2 separate regions of the Homo sapiens genome follow, and region 1 is linked to region 2. Evidence: promoter capture Hi-C in 16 types of primary human blood cells and fetal thymus (Javierre and others, 2016). All regions are on one chromosome and are shown on one strand. The core of a region is centred on a gene start or on the middle of the fragment in contact, and the rest is flanking DNA. Distances in the headings are between cores, read along the strand shown.

What was found. The method cuts DNA at HindIII sites, captures the fragments that hold promoters and counts their contacts. A CHiCAGO score of 5 or more calls a contact.
Region 1: a fragment that was not itself captured here is called in contact with the fragment with the promoter of KLK13 in region 2 in 1 of 17 cell types (M1 macrophages); the score reaches 5.3 in M1 macrophages.

Annotation. Positions count from the first base shown.
Region 1 is chr19:50,936,292-50,943,081 of GRCh38, forward strand. No RefSeq gene overlaps it. Among named protein-coding and RNA genes, the nearest start is that of PPIAP59, 12 kb to the left of the region's middle. RefSeq lists a silencer at 2,747-2,910. The HindIII fragment of the contact is 3,837 bases long and covers 1-3,302 here.
Region 2 is chr19:51,060,640-51,068,528 of GRCh38, forward strand. KLK13 (kallikrein related peptidase 13) reads right to left here and starts at 4,453. Exons shown (of 5, transcript NM_015596.3): 1 at 4,377-4,453. The coding sequence starts at 4,428. The HindIII fragment of the contact is 5,030 bases long and covers 804-5,833 here.

The DNA.
Region 1 (6,790 bases), core at 134-2,633, 130 kb before region 2:
GACCCCGTGATCCACCTGCCTCGGCCTCCCAAAGTGCTGGGATTATAGGTGTGAGCCACCACACCCAGCCTACTCTTTCTCTTTTATCAGCAAAACAAAAACTTTCCCAGAAACTCCAGCTTTGTCTTCTTGCTTATAACTGGATGACATGGCCACCCGGATGTATCCAGGTCATATGCCAATCTGAGCAATACTCGGGCTCGTCAGTAATGCAGTGGGAAGAATGATAAGCACATCTCAGTTGCACCCAGCTTGCCCTGTGCCAAGTCAGACAAGTCACAAAACACCAACCTCTGCCTCTTAGTCCACACACATCTCCCCTCTGTTCGCCTGTTTGCCCTTGAGCCTGAACTTGATGGGAAAATGCATCCAGGCTCTGCCATTAGCAACAATCAGCGTGGGGATAGTGCTTGCATCTTTGGTGGGCAGAGAACCAAGCACACTGTTTCTCCTAAACTCTTGGTTTATTTTTCTTGAGACAGGGTCTGGCTTTGTTGCCCAGGCTGGTCTCGAACTCCTGGGCTCAAGCAATCCTCCTGCCTCAGCCTCTGAAGTAGTTGGGATTACAGGTGTGAGCCACCATGCCCGGCCTCTCTTCTTTTCATCACGGTTGTAGCAATTGTTCCACAAGTGTATTACCTTTACAACTGTTAAAGAAACTAGAAACTATCCAAATGTCTCCTCATAGTAAAAAAATGGCTCAATAAATCGGAGTACATTTACACAATGGTATACTGTGCAACGATGAGAATAAAACATTTACAACCATAAACAAAAACCTGGGCGGACCACACAATATATAATACTGAGAAAAAAAAAAGCCCAACACAAAATAATATAAGACACTCATTGCTTTTTTTGTTTGTTTGTTTTTTTGTTTTTTTAGACAAAGTCTCACTCTGTCACCAGGCTGGAGAGCAGTGGCACGATCTCAGCTCACTGCAACCTCTGCCTCCCAGGTTCAAGCAATTCTCCTGCCTCAGCCTCCCAAGTAGCTGGGATTACAGGTGCATGCCTCCATGTCCGGCTAATTTTTGTATTTTTAGTAGAGACGGGGTTTCACCATGCTGGCCAGGATGGTCTCGATCTCTTGACCTCGTGATCCACTCGGCTCAGCCTCCCAAATGATTTATTTATATAAACTTATTATACTTCTATATGTCTATGTAAATAAATTTATATTTATATGTTGTTCATAAATGGGACAAATTAATTTATGGTGATAGAAGTCACAAAAGTTGCTACACTTGGGGAGAAGTCATGAAAGTCGCTACCCTTGCAGGCGAGGGATTTAGGTAGTAATGGAAGCGGCTACATTTGGCAGGGGAGGTAGTGACTGCAAGGAAGACCCCACTGGTTTTTCTGAGGAGATGCTTAGGTTCCGTGGCTCTGTCTGAATGCTGGTTACAAGGGTGTGTTCTGTTTTGTGAAACTTCACTGCCATTTATGATACTTCTGTGCATGTTTCTTTCTTTCTCCTTTCTTTCTTTCTTTCTTTCTTTCTTTCTTTCTTTCTTTCTTTCTTTCTTTCTTTCTTTTTTTGTTTCTTGAGACAGTCTCATTCTGTCATCTAGGCTGGAGTGCAATGGCGTGATCTTGGCTCACTGCAATCTCCACCTCCCAGGTTCAAGCGATTCTCTTGCCTCAGCCTCCCGAGTAGCTGGGATTACAGGTGCCCACCACCGAGCCCGGCTAATTTTTGTATTTTTAGTAGAGACAGGGTTTCGCCACATTGGCCATGCTGGTTTCGAACTCCTGACCTCAGGTAATCCACCCGCCTCGGCCTCCCAAAGTGCTGGGATTACAGGTGTGAGCCACCATGCCCGGCCCTGTGCATTATCTTTCAATAAAAGTTAATTTAAAATATTGCTGCAAGGGCATCTATGGGGCAGACATCATTGGTTGTTCCTCCCGTTCTTTGATGTCGGAATCCTGATTTCTCTCAAGGAGCAGCTTCTACATGCTTTAGGGGAGGTCCTCCACTCCATCGTGAAAGAATAATCCTGTTTGGTTCAAATCAACCATGTTAACCTCTCCACCCCACTCCCCACCCCACCCCACCAGTCTGTGACTGGTTTAGGAAAGGACATGTGACCCAATTCTGGCCAGTAAGAATAAGATAAAATTCTGCTGGGGTGGTTTCTGGAAAAGCATCATCCTTCTCAAAGACAGACCCACTACGGGTGTTGATCTTAAGGATGATGACCCCCCGCCGAGGAGAACCAAGCGAAACACAGCCTGACGCCCTGTGTCTGGAGCTGCCCTTACCTGGATTTCTTGATATGTGAAATTAAAACTTATTTACTATTGAAGCCAGCATGAATCTTCTCTTGTTCCTCAAAGCAGCTTAACCGGAAACATCATTTTGGAAAATGTGCTCAAGACTGCCCCTTAGCTAGGATTCTGCTCCTATCTAGATTTTTTTAAGATTAAGAAAAAAAAAATTGAGGCCAGATGGCTCACGCCTGTAATCCCAGCACTTTGGGAGGCTGAGGTAGGCAGATCACCTGAGGTCAGGAGTTCGAGACCAGTGTGGCCAACATAGCGAAACCCTGTCTCTACTAAAAATACAAAAATTAGCCAGGCATGGTGGCTCACACCTATAGTCCCAGCTACTCAGGAGGCTGAGGCATGGGGATTGCTTGAACTGGGGAGGTGGAAGTTGCAGTGAGCCGAGAATACGCTACTGCACTCCAGCCTGGGTGACAGAGTGAGACTCTGTCTAAAGAAAAACAAAAACAAAAAACAAACATTGAATTACAACTGTCACCCAGTACTATTTGCCCCTATTTTCACACCACACCACACACCCTGGCAGCCCAGTCTTTCTGGAATGTCCCCTAAAAAGTCGTGAGGACTTGTAAATGGCTAGGCACAAAGGGGAAGATAAAGGTGACAATTATTGGATCATTTTGATGTATGTGTCCTTCTCTCACACCTTTGACTGTTCATCAGGCAGACACTTCTTATCTCTTCTTCCTTGCTGGTAAGGACTGCACCCGTGACAGAGAAATGTCAGAAACTCACTTTCTCAGCTTCTCTTGAAGCTAGAGTGTCAGCATTGGGACCTTCTCCAATGAGTGGTCATTGAGACCCAAGAACAGATCCAGGGGTGTGGGGGGACTCTGGAAAAGACTTTCTTTCCTAATGAAGAGAGCTCTGCCAACAGAGTCTCTCCTTCCTGCCTTTTGTCATGGTGCGTGAGGATGTGATGTCTGGAGCTGTGGCAGCCATTTTACAGCCACGAGATTACAAGCCTAAAGGAGAAAGCTGACATATTTTCTTCTTCCTGCTAGAACATAAGCTTAAGGAAGGCAGGGGTTTGGTGTCTGTTTTATTAATCAGTCTATCCCAAGTGTCTATAATATTACTTGGCTCTCATAGGTGCTCATGAGTTGAATAAATATATGAATGAATGAATGCAGAGGGCAGTAGAGAAGAAAGATGGGTCCCTAATGATGTAATGTAGGAATCACCAAACCACAGTACTTCCCTCTTTTGGGGCTTCTTATTATGTGAAATAATACACGTCCTTATTGCTTAACCCACTTTGAGTTGGGTATTTTGTTACTGACAAAATTTTCTAGTGTAATTCCTTTTCTAGAGTGTTCAATTTCCAAAGTATTCCCTGGAGTGACTTTCTATAACCACCTGTGAGTATCTTGAGAAATCTTAGAGCTGGATTGGCACGTGGAGATCATTACGTTTCAATCCTCCCATTTTACAGGTAGAGAAACTGAGGTCCAGAAAAAGTACAAATGACCTTTACACAGGTCACTCAGAAAGTGCTGAAGACTAGAATGTCCATGTGTTGATGTGTTGTCCATTTCAATGACTACCACGCCCACAACCTTCTTAGGGGCCCTGCCCTGCCCACTGCTATGGATGAAGGGGTGGCTGGGGGATCCATGTTGCACTCTGTGGGCCCACCTTTCAGACTAGAGATAGAGTCTGCATCTGACCCTAGGACAGCCAACCAGATTTTTTCTCTAGGGGCTATGAACAAAGAAAACCCAGTAACTGGAGCCAGTTATGGGGGAGAGAAGAGATGCTTTGATAGGCAACAGGCAGTCAATGTAATGAGAAAACAGAGGTGGGATGAGAAGAAAGAGACCGTGAAAGACACATACCTAGGGGAGAAGGGATAGAGATCCCACAGGCAGCTGCTTCTGCCCTGACATTTTCCAATTTAAATTAATGGATATTCTTTTGATAACTGATATGGCCTGGCCCTGTGTCCCCACCCAAATCTCATCTTGGATTTTAATTTGAATCATAATCCCCACGTGTTGGGGGTGGGATCTCATGGGAGGTGATTAGATCATGGGGACAGTCCCCCCATGCTATTCTTGTGATAGTAGTGAGTTCTCACAAGATCTGATGGTTTTATAATTTTCCCCCTTCAGTTTGCCCTTCTCCTTTCGGCCACCCTGTGAAGAAGGACATGTTTGGTTCCCCTTCTACCATGATCGTAAGTTTTCTGAGGCCTCCCCAGCCATGCTGAACTATGAGTCAATCAAACCTCTTTCCTTTATAAATTACCCAGTCTTAGGTAGTATCTTTGCAGCAACTTGAGAATGGACTAATACAATAACCTACCTCCCGTTTCTACCCTGGCCAACAAGCAGCTCCAGTTTGTTCTCCACAAAGAGCCAGAATGTTCTCCTTTGTGCATGAACCAGATCCGGCTGGAAAACCTCCAATGACTTCCCAAATTCTCAGAGAAAACAAACAAGTGTCCAGCTCTATGGGTCTTCTTTCAGCTCCTGGAGAATGTCCAGCATGCTCCAATCTCAGCACTTGGCACTTGACCTCCTCTCTGTCTGGAACATCAGTGCCCCAGATGTTCATGGGGCTGGCCACTTTCTTTCTTTTTTTTTTTTTTTTTGAGATGGAGTCTCCTTCCATCACCCAGGCTGAAGTGCAGTGGCGCAATCTCGGCTCACTGCAACTTCTGCCTCCCAGGTTCCAGTGATTCTCCTGCCTCAGCCTCCCAAGTAGCTGGGATTACAGGTGTGCAACACCACGCCCAGCTAGTTTTTGTATTTTTAGTAGAGACAGGGTTTCACCATGTTGGCCAGGCTGGTCTTGAACTCCTGACCTCAAGTAACCACCTACCTCAGCCTCCCAAAGTGCTGGGGTTATAGGCATGAGCCACTGCGCCCTGCCTGGGGCTGGCCACTCTATCCTCTCAGTCTCAAATGGTACCTCCTCGGCGAGGCCCTTTGTGTTTGTTACAGTGGCTACTGTAACAAATCACTGAGAGTCTAGTTGCTTAAAACAACACAGATTTATTCTATTGTAGTTTGGGAGGTCAGAAGTCCTAAAGATCTCACTGGGCAGAAATCAAGGTGGTCGGCAGGGCTGGTTCCTTCTGGAGGCTCTAGGGGAGGGTCCATTCCCATGTCCTCCTGCCTTCCAGAGGTTGCCCATATTCCTTGGCTCATGCCCCTTCCTTCACCTTCATCATCATCATCATTATTATTATTATTATTATTATTATTATTACTATTGTTAGAGATTGGGTCTTGTTCTGTTGCTCAGGCTGGAGTGCAGTGATCCTCCTACTTCAGTCTCCCGAGTAGCTGGGACTGTAGGCACACACCACTACACCTGGCAAATTAAAAAACATTTTTTTTTTTTTTAGAGATGGGGTCTCCCTATGTTGCCCAGGCTGGTCTTGAACTCTTGGCCTCAAGCCATGCCCCTGCCTTGGCCTCCCAAAGTGCTGGGATTACAGGCGTGAGCCACCATGCTCATCTTCCTCTGTCTTCAAAGCCAGCAGCATAGCATCTTCCAGTCTCTCATTCTGATCTTTCCGCCTCCCTCTTATAAGGACCCTTCTGATTATATTGGGTCCACCCAGATAATCCAGGATCATCTCCCCATCTCAAGACCCTTAATCACATCAGCAAAGCCCCCTTGCTATAGAAGGTAACATATTCACAGGCTCCAGAAATTAAGATGGCGTTTCGAGGTGGGAGGGAGGCATTATGCTGCCTCCCATGCCCTCCTTGATCATCCAATGTAGAGACCCCCCCCACCAACTCACGACATTTCCTCTCTTGCCTTATGCCCTGCTCTCATTGTGTTCATGTCACTTACATAATTACTATGGCACATACAAGTTTATCTCTCTCTCTCTTTTGTTTTTTTGAGCTGGCATCTTACTGTCGCCAGGCTGGAGTGCAGTGGCGTGATCTCTGCTCACTGTAATCTCCACCTCCCAGGTTCAAGCAATTCTCCTGCCTCAGTCTCCTGAGTAGCTGGGATTACAGGTGCATGCCACCATGCCTAGCTAATTTTTGTATTTTTAGTAGAGAGGGGGTTTCACCATGTTGGCCAGGATGGTCTCGATCTCCTGAACTTGTGATTCGCCTGCTTTGGCCTCCCAATTATCTCTCTCTTTATTGTCTGTCTTCCACTCCTGGAATGTGAGCTCTACAAGGCAGGAACTTTTTGGTCTGTTTGGCCCAATGCCTTATCCCCAGCACATGGAACCATTCCTGGTGCAAAGTAGCCACATGGGCCCGGGTGTGGTGGCTCATGCCTGTAATCCCAGCACTTTGGGAGGCTGAGGCGGGCAGATCACTTGAGGTCAGGAGTTCGAGACCAGCCTGGCCAACATGGTGAAACCCTGTTTCTACTAAAAATACAAAAACTAGCTGGGCGTGGTGGTGGACGCCTGTAATCCCAGATGCTTGGGAGGCTGAGGCAGGAGAATCGCTTGAACCTGGGAGGTGGAGGTTGCAGTGAGCCGAGATTGTGCCACTGCACTCCAGTGTGGTTA
Region 2 (7,889 bases), core at 3,203-5,702:
TTAGAAAACTGGGATCCAGGGGGCAGAGGAGCCCTGGGGTTGTGGTTTCTGGGTTTGGGGTAAGGGTCGGATTATTGCCCTGGGTGACCAGGAACTGAAGATGAATTTGCCGACCTATGGCAGTTGCTATTCTTGACCAAGTGGAGATGAATTAGGGCAAAGGGGTGACATTATTTTCTCAGGAAGTACCAAATCCTCCACTGGGGGTTAACAGAAGAGTTCACAAAATGAGGATGTTGCTGATAGGTAAGCAGGAGCCTGACTTTCTCTCCACATGCATTTTTTATATCATTCTACCAGAAGATGGATTTCAGGAGGTAGAAGTGAGACTGACCTACACATCCACCTAGGCAATATCTATCCATCAATCTATCCAATCATCCATCCCCCATTCATCCTATTGATTTGTCCATCCGTCTACTCATCCATCTATCCATTCATCCATTTAGGTAGTCATCTAACCATCTATCCATCCATCCATCCATCCATCCATCCAACCATCCATCCACTCATCTGTCCCTCCATCCACTGGTCCATTTATTCATCCATCCATCCATCCATCCATCCATCCATCCATCCATCCATCCATCCAATCCAACCATCCATCCATCCATCTATCCATATATCCATCCATGCATCCATCCAATCATCTTTCCACCCATCTCTCTATCCTTTCACTGCATATATACTGGTTGCCTCCATGGCTTTAAATACCAGCTATAGGCTAATCATCTCCAGCCCTGAACTCTTCTTTAAGCTCAAAACTCAAACACTGTTGATTTGGATGCCTTACAGGCATCTTAAGCTTTGTATTCCCAACTTGATTCTTCTCAATCAAAACTGTTCGCTCCAGTATTTCCCACCTCAGTGCTCAGCCCCAAACCTGGGAGTCATCTTTGCTTCTCTTCTTTCCTTCATCACTCACAACCAGTTCCTATTGGTTTTATCTCCCAAATATCCAGTTATCTCCACACTTCTGCCACCATCTTGGTCCATGCCCCATCTTCTGTAGCCCAAATGACTACAACATTAACCTAAATCCTTCCACTTTTACATCCCTCCGATCCAGTCTTCTCAAAGTAGGCTGAGGACTCTTCAAACAAAGAAAGTCAGATGTTGTTCCCAGGCTCAACTTTCTTTAAAATAAAATCCAAAAAGCCTTCCCAAGGTGTGCAGGACTCTGTGCTGTCTGGCCCTTGCCAGCCTCTTTGACCCCATCTCCAACCTCTTTCTTCTGACTTCCTCTAGTCCAGCCTCATGGGCCTGTTCTTCAAACACACCAGGCATTTAAAGAAAAGAAGAATTTAAATCATCTTGGATGCCCCCATACTAGACATTTTATACTTGCTATTTCCTCTCTCTGCACAGTCCTTTCTCCAGACCTATGTTGTTTAATATGGTAGCCACTAGCTACATGTGGCTATTTAAATTTAAACTAATTAAAATGAAGTAAAACTAAATTAAAAATTCAGTTCTTAAGTCACACCAGCCATATTTCAAATGTTCAATAGCCTGAAGGGGCTAGTGGATAATTGGACAGCACAGATATAGGATATTTCATATATACATATATGGAATATTCTACTGGATGACCCTCAGAATTTAGAGGTTGTATGTCTGGGTCCTTCTTAATTCTGAGAGGTCAGCTCAAATGTCTCCTCTTCAGAAAGGCCTTCCCTGACCACCTGGTCTAATGTTGACTCTCCTGGTCCCGACTCCTCCCCCATTACATTCTTCCAGTTGGTCTTCATCAGAACAATGATTGCTATTCATTTCTCTTCACATTTGTATGTATTCGTTTTTAAAAATCTCTCCACTTTGACTGTAAGCTCCATTGACAACAGGCACCTTAACTGCTTTATTCAGTACCATATTCCCAGGACCTAACACAGCGCCTGGCACACAATGGGGGCTCAATAAATAAATGCTGTGTGTGCCAGGCACTGTGTCTGGCATTGAAAGCACAGCAGGGGTCCGTGGGACAGGGAGAATCCAATCCTGAACATGCATGCCATTTTGTGACTGTGTGACCTTATGCAAATCACCAGCCTCAGTTTCCCCAGCTGTCAAGTAGAAAAAGTAATAGTTCATCTCTCATTGCGCAGTTGAAGAATTCAAGATGATCCTGCATTTCAAACCGTGCAGCACAGCAGGTGGCATGGAGAGCACTCAGTCAGTGGGAAATGTTATTATTAATTATTAGCTACAACAGGAGGTCCCTCTGCCTCCCTAGCTAGTTTCCCCAACTACAGGGCAAGCAGTTGGATTAGCTCAGTGGTTTGCAGTTAGGGACAGAAGTTGTCGGTGAGCACAGGATCATTTTAGATGGTAGAGAGATGAGATTTAAGTAACGTTAAATCGCACACTCAGACGCTGAACCAGCATCCAGTTCTCTTTTAAACCTGATTTTGTCAAGGATAAAGTCTCAGGATGGTGCTAATATGGTTTTAACACCTCCCTAATCCTCACTGAGCTCACTTTTCAAAGCCAGGAGGACACAGAAGCCTCATCAGGCCACCTAACATTTATTACACTGAACCATCTGCAAAAGTTGTTTTAGGAAGGTCAAAAAGGGTCAAGTATCAGCAATTTCAGGTGGTCCAACCCAATAAACATATTATTTTCTTTTCATTGTGCAGGATTTATTTCCTTCCTTACCTTCTATTTATGACAAAGAATTCTATTCTCTATTCAGGACAGTAATATAAAGTTGAACATGCTTTTGTTTGAGTGAAAAAAGAAGAAAAAAAGCTAACTTTAAGCAAATGATTAGGTCAAAAGTTATAAAAATGGTTTTCAGAGCCTCAAGTCCAGGATATGGACAGGGAAAACAACCTTGATTAGGATTCTGACTCAGGCATCGCCGGTGTCATTGGAGCAGGAGCCTTCTGTCTTTGAGTCCTAGGTTTCTCTGCCATGAAATTGGAGTAATTACAATGCACCTACCTCGCCAGGTTGTTGAGGACTCCACAAGGCGTAGCGTGTGGGTCTCCTAGCCTAGGGTGTGGCACTCAGGAGTGGCACGGGCATGAATCCAGGGAGTGTCGCCAGAGGAGAAAAGCCACCCCACCTTCAGGCCAAGGATGGTGCCAGGTGCCAGGCACCCACAGATCCCTCCTTTTTCAGGTCTTGGCTCAAGGGTCAAGCCCTTTGGGAAGGCCTCTGGTCGGGAAGCCGCCATTACATCTCTAGGCCCCTGGCTTGGCTCCTTGAAGTCTTCACCTCATGTCAAGATAATTATTAACTAATTATTTGGATAATTGTTTGAATAACATCTGCGTCTGTCCCCGCTAGACTCCAGGTGCTGAGAGCAGGGACTGTGTCTCTGCTTGTACAGCACCCAGCACAGTGGCCGGTGTTTAATAGCTGTTTGTTGAATGAATAAATGATTCATGAACGGGGTTTCCAGAGAACCTGCCTACAACGGCAGGGAAAGATGGGAAAGATCCATAAGGATCTTAAGGACTACCAATTTGGGGTGAGGTCACATAGGTTTGGGGTCAACCCAAGGATTAAAATAACAATCTAGAAGGTTCTGGAAGGGGCTGAGTATGAAGACAGAATACTAGAGGCCGGGCTCGGTGGCTCATGCCTGTAATCCTGGCACTTTGGGAGGCTGACGCGGGCTACTTGAAGTTAGAAGTTCGAGACCAGCCTAACCAACATGGCGAAACCCCGTCTCTGCTGAAAATACAAAAATTAGTTGGGCGTGGTGGCGGGCGCCTGTAATCCCAGCTACTCGGGAGGCTGAGGCAGGAGAATCGCTTCAACCCGGGAGGCGGAGGTTTCAGTAAGCCAAGATCGTGCCACTGCCTTCCAGCCTGGGAGACAGAGCAAGGTTCCATCTCAAAAAAAAAAAAAAAAAAAAAAAGGAATACTACTAATAAAGTAATAACGGCTAAGTGGCTAACTTTCAAGTCCCTTCTACCTGCGACATACTGAAGGCTCGACGCATTACCTCGTTTCAATATTCACAGTGACCTTCTCTGGTAAGCACTTATAGATTAAGCCCATTTTCCAGATGAAAACAATTTAGGCACAAAGCAGCTGCTAGGCTACTGGCTCAAAGCGGCAGCGTCAGGACGCGAACCCATGTCTTTCAGCTTTCCAGAGAGGACAGGAAGCCTTGAACGCGGGAGGGGCTGCTGCGAGGGTATTTTGGGAGGTGAAGGGTCTGGGGTCGGAGGGCCAACCTCAGCCGGGAAACCAGGTCACCCAGGGACAAGCAGGAAGAGCTCTGAGCTGTCCCCACTGGACCCGGCCCCGAGTGGGCGGGGGGCGGAGCTCGCGGCTCCCACGCCCCCTCCCCCTCCGGCCTGACCCCTCCTACCATTGTCCCGAATGGCCGCCGCGCCTCCACCCCCGCGCATTCTTACCTCCTGACAAGGCCAAGGTCAGGGAGGCGATCACTAGGGCCAGGGGCCACATGGCTCCGGGATCGGGAGGGGAGGGCAGGGCGGGCGGGGCCTGAGGAGAAGGTGAAGGGGGTGTTGAGGGCGTGCCCGGAACCTCCGCGTCTGAAACCTCTCTGCTCCTGAATGTCTCCTCGCCTCATTCACTCTTGACAGCCCTGACCCTGGAATCTGCCCCCCGCCTCCAATTCCATCCTTGGTGGGGGTGCAGTGGCGAGGTGGGAGGAACAGTGTGCAACCTCCTGGGGCTCCGGCGTGCAGCCCCTCACCCCAGGAAGCCGTCCCTCCTCCCCTGCCCTCTGGCGAGCTGGGTGGTCGGTGCACTCTCGCCCTTTTCCTCCAGAGTCTGCCTTCCATTCTACCCCTCTGGGTCTGTCCACACGCTTGGTATTAGCCCAAGTTCTTATCTGTCCGCGCCCTTCGCCTCTCTCCGTCTCTGCAGGTTTCTCTCTAGATCTGAGACTCTAGCTTCACTCTCCCTCTCCCTGACTCAGCTGCCCTTCTGCTTTCCCCATCCTTCCTATCCCCTCTTCTCTCCCCTCCCTGCCCTCCTCCGCTCCCCGCCCCCGCCCCAGGCAGACCCTACCTGAGTGAGGGGCCCACGAGGAGCGTCAGCCGCCAGCTGTCTAGAACTTCAGCCCCGAACCATGGCTTTTAACCCCTGAACTCCCTCCCCCAGCTCACTCAGCATTTCCTGGTCCCTGGCCTCCCCCTCTCCACCCCCAGTGGCTCAGCGGGATGTCTCCAGGCACCCCCGACCTGGGCTTGGCCCTCTGCTTGGGGCGGAGCTTCCAGGACGTGCTGGGACCTAGGTCTGACCCCGCCCAAGGCAGAGTTGAACCCACTGTGAACTTTCAGGCCTCAGGACCCAAAAAAGGGTAAGGGGAAAGCCCATTTCCTTCCCCCTACCCCGCTGAGTTCCATGCCCATCCCTAACTTCAACCCATTCTGCACCCAGTTTTCTAACCTCTTCTCCAACCCCATGCATAATTCTTAATAGGCAGTCAGCCCCCAGATGGCCGTGTTCTATCAGATTCCCACCTCCCTATCCATCCCTAACCATACCAAGTACTCCAGCCTGTTCCTCAACCCCAGTCCCATCTCCAACCTCATCTCAGGTTTAGCTCTCAACACATCCAGGTTCCAATTCCCAGTCTCATCTCAACCCTTTTTCTTTTGAAAGACACAAGGACACCCACAATTATCCCATCATCCTGCCTCCCTGCTCCCGCCAACCACCGGACACAAGAAGGAAATCATCAGCTGGGTGGATAGAAAATCAGCTCCCTCGGACTTGGATGGGGGCAGAGATGCGACCTGAGAAAGCAACATTTTCCAGAAATGGCCTTTTAGGAGCAGGGCCAGAGGGGGTGAGGGAGTCCACGGGGACCTAGGTGGAGAGGAAAAAGCAGGAGCCGGAAAGCTTTGAAGACGTGGATTGGGGGTGGGGGAGAGGAAGGAGGAAGGGGTGGTGTTTTGAGAATGAGTAGGTGTCTCCAGGAACTATGACTGGGTGGAGCCCTGAGTTAATCCTAGGGGGTGGAGGGGACAGGATTAGGGATTAAGGACTGAGGTGGGGTCAGAATTTGGAAGAAAGCCAGGGACGTGGACCAGATGAAGTTTGGAAAGAGTGAGAGAGTGGAGGTGTCACAATGAGGATAAAGAATAGAGATGGATGGGGCGAGGGCTCACATGGAAACTTGTACAGTCCTTATTGATGGAGTTCAGATTTGGATGTGGAGATCAAATCTAGTGTCAAAGGGTAACTTTTAAAACATGGTCTTACCATGACTCTCTGACATATATGAAATGAACATGTGTCAAAGATTGTATCTTGACTCATTAATAAATGGCAGAGCCAGTAAGATGTTACAAAGAGCCATATGCACAGAGACAACGAGGAATGCTGAAATGAATTTACAAATAGATGCAAAACTGGCTATTCCACACTGGGAGGAGGAGGGAAATCCATTGTACTTCCACCTGGCAAAATTCATGTAAACATTTATGGACAAGAATTATTTGCATTGCTCTCAGATACCTACAATTTAGAGTCATAAAGTGGCTCAAAGACAGGAAAGGGTACAGAGACCTCATAAAATCAGATAACCCATCTAACTTTGCATTGGCGACACCTCAGTGTCCAATGTTGGGTCCATTTCAAAGTATTTTGCTAAGAAGAAAAATATGGCTTAATATAGGAAATCAGTAGAGTCTATGGTTAAGGATGGGCCTGATGACAACATTAGGAATGCAATGAGTTTGGGGAGGTGAATGAAAATTGGATGAGGATGGGTATAGAGTTGGAGGTGGTAGTTGAGCTGGTTTTGGGATAGGATTAGATTGTAAGATGGGAGGTATCTAGGGATAAGTTGGTGTTGGGGTACTGTTGGGTTGGGGCTGAAGATGGAACCAAGATTGAGGTTTTGGATGGGGAAATGTTAAGATGTGGTTGAGCTGGGGTAGTGGGTTGACATGGGTGATGAGGACTGGCCATGAGGTTGAGTGTCTATGATGCAGTAGGTTTTGGTGGGGGTGAGCTGGGTCATACCCCACCTCTCAAGGTGAAAGAAAGGTCACTGTCTTTCTCCACCCTGGACTTCTCCCACCTCACAGGGCGGGGTCTGAGTTCACTTTTTGAGTGGAATTGTGTTCAGGTGGTGTGGCTGGAGGTAGGATGCCAGGTTAAGTGCGGCAACCAGCTTATGTGGGAAATCGGGGTACTTGTACCCTCCTGTGACCTGGGTCCATGCTTCCAGAGAAGCCTTTCTCACTTGGGAAAAGCTGGAGCCTGGAGTGAGGGTGGTTGGCCTTGTTATTTGCTGAGGGGTGAGTGCCAGGTCAAATTGATGTTAGGGGTTATGATTGGCCGAACGCGGGTTGGGTAGCTCTGGTTGAAGTGAGGTCATGGACCCACTGAGGGCTGGGCACCTTCCACCCCCTCACTTGATGAACAAGCCCACGGCTGAAAGTCACACACAAACTGGACCAAATCCAAGTGCGCTTCTGTCACAGGTGCAGGTCTTTCCTCCACCACAGAGAACCGGGCTGGAGAAAGAAGAAGAAAGGACCCGAAAAAGAGATGGTGTTCCTAGTGGTTCTGACCTCAGACTCTGGAGCTAGACTGCCTGAGTTCAGATGATGTGACTGCTCTGTGCCTCAGCATCCCCATTTGTAAAATGGCACAATCAATAGCACTTGCCTTATGGAGAAGGGTTAACTGGATTAATACCCAAAAATGCTTCGAAGAGAGTGTGGCATGGACCAAGGGCCACAATGCTCCTGTTAAATAAGTAAAGCTTAAGATGGAGGCATCTGACGGTTCCAGGAGGCCCCTCCCTATCTTGGCTTCAAAATGGGATTCTTTGTCAAGCAGGAACTGGAACTTCTGGTTGGAAGTGCTAGCTGGGATGAGAAAGTAGGCCCCACACCCAGGCCCAGAGGAGGGGCCCCAACGCAAACATGAAGGGAGGGGAA